Regions from separate parts of the Homo sapiens genome. Here region 1 is linked to region 2. The links are contacts of gene promoters, found by promoter capture Hi-C in blood cells and fetal thymus (Javierre and others, 2016). All regions are on one chromosome and are shown on one strand. The core of a region is centred on a gene start or on the middle of the fragment in contact, and the rest is flanking DNA. Distances in the headings are between cores, read along the strand shown. Region 1 holds the start of IFT27 (intraflagellar transport 27). Region 2 holds the start of PDXP (pyridoxal phosphatase).

Region 1 (3,389 bases), core at 890-3,389, 880 kb after region 2:
CTTCCCAGGGTCATGGTTTCATACAGGAGAGAGGATGTGAAGTGCTTAGCAGATGCCTCACATCTAATGCTCAATCAACGCAAGTTATTACGGCAAGGAACTCAATAAGTATTTGCTCTTTAGGAAGGGTGAGAAGGAGTTCAAATCCATCTCTGCTACTCACTAGCTAGGTGACCTTCGGTGTTTCACTTAATCTCATTTGGGCCCTAGTTTCCCCATCTATCAAATGGGGATGATACATGGTTATTGTGAATATCAAATGTAAATGTGAAATTAAACTAATTAATCCCTAAAATCACTTAGAACAAGGCCAGCCTTAAGTCTGTGGTCAACATAGGCCAGCTGTGACTATTAGAGCTGCTCAGAAATGGGATAACTCGAATTGCTCAGGAGCCCCCATGGCTCCAAAATTCTCTGACCACCTTAAACCTAGTGACTCTCATTCAGCTTACCTTCAGTCACAGAAATGTATAGAAGGCCCTTGGGTCCATGAGGTGAAGGGGGACAGAATTCACCATACAAGTGTTTACCATCTCTCTAGAAAGTTCTACAATGCTCTTATGATAATGCTGACTAAAATCACACAGAGTAGCAGCAACAAAAGGGAGACAGTGGGTGGGGAACAGAGAACAGCCCTGGGAGGGAGGTGTGATTATTACCTGCAAGAGTTAAAGAAAGAGGCAAGAAACATGAAAAGTGGCTCAACAGTTAAATACAGGTTTATTTTGGAGCATAAACCTGAGAGGGGCTTCTGGCCAATTTCAGTCAGGAGTGCTCTCTCTTACAGACTAAGAGTATTTAAGGGTTTAGGGCAAGAGAGCTTACCACAGGCTTGGAATGTTTCTGTGTGGAGGAGAAGTTTACTGTGGGGTTGGAATGTCTCCGGTCTGAGGGTGGGTTATGTTGGGGCTGACATCTCTCTGACCAGAGGGGAGGTTATCTTGGGGCTGCATGTCTCTGGTCGGGGGGTGGGTTTATCTTAGGGTTGGAATGTTTCTGATTGGAGATGTCACTTGTGGTTTATGGTCATTCTGACATTAGCCATTAGGCTGATGCCCTTTGGGTTGAATTTAGGCCGTTTTTGATCAAGGAGAACTTTAAAATGGCAGTGCTTGTCCAAGATGGCTATGCTCCGGCTCTGTCATTACCCACCTCGCAAAATGAAGGAACCAAGGCTTCGGAGGCTGCCCTGATGTGTGTCTGTGTCTTAGCTACGTGGAGCTGCCTCGGGAGGGTGACTCACCAAATGGGGTCCTTTAAGGGATTAACAGGGTCACTCATGGTGAACAGGTTGGCCTGGAGGGGAGCCGGCAAGAGGAAGGCAGAAGACCAGAAAGAGGCTTTTTGCTCACTCAGACCTGGATGTCTGAGACAGACTCACGTGATGTCACCAAAGAAGAAAAGCAGTTACGAGAAATGAAGGAGAAACAGACCTTTACCGTAGCGCCAGGAATGAATCCCAAGGAAAGAACATCTCAGACAACTTGCATTTACTCTGGATTCGGGGCTGAAACCATCAGCCATTCATAGAGTGTGTGTGTTTATTCCCCCACACAAGGCTGGCAGCCACTCTGAGATGCAGAGTGGCGGAGAGGTGGAATGTTCTAGGTGTCTGGAGGGAATGTGGAACTTTCGCACAGGCACCTTTGCTGAGGGGCTGCTCTTCCCTTCAGCATCAGCCATCAGAATCCCAGGGGCCCTGAGAAAGTGAGAACAAGGGGTACATTCGGCCAACCAGTGACAGTGATGATAAACCAAATCTGTCCAGATAAGCTTCCGCTCTCCCATCCACCCCACAATCACGTGTGCACCTACTATCTCCCAGGCACTCATACGTTTCTCTCCTTCCATCTCCACAACCACCCCACAAGGCGGGTTCTCCTAGGCCCATCCTGAGGCTGAGGGATGAGGTGACTTGTCCAGGCCAGGGATTTAGGTCTCTGACCCCCTAACCACGTGCAAGAGGCACCCCCAACCCAGTAAACGCGTACAGAGAGCCTCCCTGGGTGACGGGCAAACGAGGTTAGTGATGCATTCTCCTTTTGCAGAGAGTAAATGGACTAAGAGCAAAGTACGACTTCAAGTTTCCGAGTCTCACCGCTTAGCCCCATCAAAGTGTATTTGTTCTCCCTTTGTTCACAAACATCACTTTAATAAAACACCTTCATATTTTAGATTTTAACGCTCATTACATCTTTGAGCTTTTAAAATGAGATTTCCCTGCGGGATGCGGGGCAAGGACTGCACTTCTCCATGCACTTTAATAGCCGCGCTGTGCAGAACCCGGGAACCGGGGAAGCCGCGAGAACCGCGCGAAGTCAGAGCAAGTCAAAACGACCTCTACAGCGGCGGCCTGGCCCACTGCGCAGGCGCCGCTCCAGACCGCCTAGAGCCCAACCTGCCCCATTGTAGGCGAACCCACTTCTAGAAGGACAGCGGGAGTGGCGAATCCCTATTCCTCCCGAAGATGGGTCAAGCCAGACTCTGACCAATCAGAAAGCTTCTCTTGTCACCGCTTCTGACTGCTTGACGTGGAGGCTTCTTTATCTCGGGACTCTCAGGCGCAGCGGGGGCGGGATATAAAGCTGGTTGACGTCAATTACAACCACTCGTCAAGCAGACTGAACTTGAAGAACTGATAACTCTACGAATTGCATCTCAAGAAAAGGCTGTTATCCCAGCTCTCTACTCCCATTGGATTTTTGTGAGACCTTGAGGGTGGGAGCTTTTGGCGGCAACCAATCGAGGGTCAGCGAGGAGGAGGAGGAGGCGGGGCAGGTGGGCTATGGTTGCTTGGAGAGTGCATCCGGCCCGGTACTTGTGATCGGAGGAGAGCCGGATCGTCCTTCCTTGAACCCTCTGGGTAGGGCTGTGCTGAGGGGCTGGGCGGGGAGCACAGGCCGTGTCCGCTCGCTTGCACCTTTTCAGACTGCCGTGTCAGGCCTCGAGCCGGGCCCACCTGGAGCCCTCCCCTGCCCACCCGCCCCCAGCGCCCGATATCCGCCCCCGGCCCAGAAGGGCCGGGCTCGGTCATCCCCAGTCCCGTCGCGGCCACTGACCCTTGAGATCAGCCCTCCCCTCCCCACCTTCCCGTCCCAGGCCAGCCCAGGGCCCGAAGCCCACCCACTCGCGTCTCTAGCAGCCGCTCTTGTCCTCTGGGTACGGCTCGCGGGAGTGTTGGTTACCATGGTGAAGCTGGCAGCCAAATGCATCCTGGCAGGTGAGTCTGAAAACTTGCGCTTGAATACGGTGGTCTCTGGAGTCCAGAGCCTTCATAATTCATCCAGAGCTTTTGTTCACCTAAATTGCCTACCTTTTCCTTTCTCTCTCCCAAAGGCGAGTTACTGCAATTACTGATACAGTAAATTACGTTAGGCGTGGAAGAATGA
Region 2 (3,149 bases), core at 58-2,557:
TCTCTTTACTTGAGAAATGGGACAATAACTTCCATCTCCAGAGTAATTTGGAAACCAAAGAAGAACACACACAAAGCTGTTTCATTAAGTTCTCTGTAACATGGGGGACTCTGGCTACAACTTACATCATCTGAACACCTACTATGTGCCAGGCACTCACCCTGATCACCGTCACCGGGCATGCTGAGCACTGCCATTTCTCACCCAGGCAGAGATGCTTGGAGGTTATGTAACTGAACACGATTACACAGCTGTGAAGCTGGAGCTGGACCTGGAACTGAGGTCAAACTCCACCGCCTTTGCTCCCCACACACCTGCCTACACCCTGCCTCTGGGAATGGTGTTTCAACCCTCACACAGGGGGACAATCCTCCCAGGCTTCCTCTCCAACCCCACCCCGATGGTGGGTAGGGCAGAATTCCGCCCAACTCCCTAAGTTACAAAGGGCCTCAGTTTCCTCATCTGTCCAACAGGGACCACACTGCTGCGCCTCACAGGATGACGGCTACAGGGATCAACCGCCCCCCACACCAAAGCACCCTGGGCCTCCCTCGCACTCTCCTGTTCCCCACCTGCCACCTGGAGACGCCTCTTCCCCGCCCCTCACCCTTAGGCGTGGAGGCGAATGCGCAGGTCGCCCCCATCTCAGTTTCCCCGCCATTCCCGCGCTCACCAGGGGTCCGGCTGCCGTCGCTCAGCGGGTGCCATGGGTCACGGTCGGTGGCCACGAGTAGGCACTCGGGGTCGCGCAGGTGCGCGCACGCCTCCCTCAGCTTGGCGAAGGAGAAGTGCTCGTCGTAGCCCACAAGCACGGCGCGCACGCGCGGGGCCGCGCCGTCCCCCGCGCTCGGGTCCCCGGCCAGGCGCAGCCCCGCGGCGCGCAGCTCGGCGCGCAGCCCCTCGCCGCCCAGCACGAACACGGCGCCCGGCGCGTCCGGAGGCCCGGGCAGGCGCTGGCGCAGCAGGCGCGCGGCGCACAGCGCGGAGCTGAAGAGCTGCTCGGCGCGCAGCCCCCCGAAGCCGAGGCGCGCGAAGCGCAGGGCCAGCTCGGGCCGCGCGCGCCGGCTGTTGTTGCTCACAAACAGAGCCGCCTTGCCGGCCCGCGCCAGCCGCTCCAGCAGCTCCGGGGCGCCCGGCACGGCGCGCTCGCCGTTCCACAGCACCCCGTCACAGTCGAACAGGACCCCCTGCGCCCGGCCCAGCACGTCGCGCAGGGCCGCTCCGCGCAGCCTCTCGCAGCGCGCCATGCAGCCGGCCGGCCGCCGGCCTCCCGCGCCGCGCTCTCTCCGCGGGCACGGCGCGCTCTCCCTGGCACGTTCCACGCAGCCGCCAATTGGCGCGCTGGAAGGACCGGGGGGCGGGGCGACGGCGTGGCCTGCAGCCAATGGGGGCGAGAGTCTGGGAGAGGAGCGAAGCCGCGAGCTAACGGAACTTGGAGAGAGGGGCGGATTCGTGGCCAACACCGAGGGGAAGGGACCAATGAAGAGCTAGCTTGATCCTTCTCCCCGTCCCTGGTTCTGCTGGACCAGTCGCCGCCGAGTTTCAACGCCGACTACACTCTTACGCGGTGGGAGACTGACGCTCTTCTTAACCAATAAGAATCTACAAACAAAACGCGAAGCGAAAGGCCCCGTGCCCTCCAGCCAATCAGAAGCTTAGGCGAGCTGGTTGCTGGGAGAAAAACAGATGTTAAATGAACTGCCTTTGGGTCGAATCTCATTGCCCCCTGAATCGTGGACGCTCCAGTTCAGAGCGAAGTCCCAAGAAACGTGTGTGTACGATGGGGTACGAGGCACATGGTGTCTTCTTGGGTGCTGGAGCCCTCGGTCTAGACCAGTAGTTCTTCACACTGCGTTAGAGTCCCCTGGGAACTTATTTTCAGATATCATTTACATATAGTAAAATGCATAGATCTTAAATGTACAGTTCAATGTCTTGACAAATGCTTTTGAAATCACCGATGTGTAGCAGGACAGATCCTCATGTAAGTGTTTTGGGTGAAGACTGGGCATTTTTTGGTTTGTTGGTTAGTTGGTTTAATTCCAGGGATTCTACCGTGAGCTAGGATAGGGTAGGGAAGCACTGGGCTAGAGGCTGGTAGGCTGTCACTGCAGCACGCCCCGGGAGGGCAGGATCCAGAATGGTCGTGGCCAATTGCCCAGAATAGTAATGGGGTGACCCAGGTTGGCTGGGTCCCTGTCTTAGGGAGGAGGCCTTGTGATCTGGAAGCAACCACAGGTCTTGGGACCTTTGAGGAGCCACTGGTCTGCAGTGTGGGGATGAATGAATTGTGAGCTGTGGTGTCACAGTTTTGAAGTTGTCTGCCAACTTCAGATAAGGCTGTGACCCCCAGGAGCAACTGGAGCTCCAACGACTTGGGAAAAACTGTACCTTGTACCCAACCTTGGAAGCTCAACTAGCTCCTATTCCCCAAGTGCCCTAAGCCTTTTGCTCCTGGCCTTTGCATAGATAGTCTCCTTGGCCTGAATGTTCCTTTTTCCTTTAAAAATTTCACCTTCAGGGCCGGGCTCGGTGGCTCACGCCTGTAATCCCAGCACTTTGGGAGGCTGAGGTGGGCGGATCACGAGGTCAGGAGATCGAGACCATCCTGGCTACGGTGAAACCCCGTCTCTACTAAAAATACAAAAAAAAAAAAAAAAAAAAAGAAAAAAATTAGCTAGGCGTGGTGGCGGGTGCCTGTAGTCCCAGCTACTCGGGAGGCTGAGGCAGGAGAATTGCTTGAACCCAGGAGGCGGAGCTTGCAGCGACCTGAGATCGTGCCAATGCACTCCAGCCTGGGCAACAGAGCGAGACTCCATCTCAAAAAAAAATAAACAAAAAATAAAAAATAAATAAAATAAATAAAAATAAACAAAATTCACCTTCAGGTCAGCTCCTGAAAGACTTCCCTTAAATATCACCTTCTCCAGGAAGCCGTTCTTAACCACCCACCCCATACCATGAGTCTAGGTTATATGGCCACCCCTAACTTGGCTAATATGGGCTCCCAGTGCAATGACACTTGATTTTTTTTGTTTTTGAGACAGGGTCTTACACCGTCACCCAGGCTGGAGTGCAGTGGCATGATCACTGCTCACTGAAGCCTCCAACTCCTGGGCTCAAGCGATCCTCCTGCCTCAGCCTTCCTA

What was found. The method cuts DNA at HindIII sites, captures the fragments that hold promoters and counts their contacts. A CHiCAGO score of 5 or more calls a contact.
Region 1: a contact is called between a fragment that was not itself captured here and the fragment with the promoter of PDXP in region 2, in 1 of 17 cell types (fetal thymus). The highest score is 7.6, in fetal thymus.

Annotation. Positions count from the first base shown.
Region 1 is chr22:36,775,505-36,778,893 of GRCh38, reverse strand. It overlaps IFT27 (intraflagellar transport 27), which reads left to right and starts at 2,775. Exons shown (of 7, transcript NM_001177701.3): 1 at 2,775-3,220. The coding sequence starts at 3,187. RefSeq lists enhancers at 1,383-1,946, 2,474-2,733, 2,512-3,075 and silencers at 2,974-3,023, 3,154-3,213. The HindIII fragment of the contact is 727 bases long and covers 1,776-2,502 here.
Region 2 is chr22:37,656,881-37,660,029 of GRCh38, reverse strand. It overlaps PDXP (pyridoxal phosphatase), which reads right to left and starts at 1,307. Exons shown (of 2, transcript NM_020315.5): 1 at 674-1,307. The coding sequence starts at 1,247. PDXP-DT (PDXP divergent transcript) reads left to right here and starts at 1,653. Exons shown (of 6, transcript NR_109952.1): 1 at 1,653-1,775. RefSeq lists enhancers at 1-104, 931-1,432, 1,621-1,670, 1,681-1,750 and silencers at 811-920, 1,121-1,430. The HindIII fragment of the contact is 9,798 bases long and covers 1-1,656 here.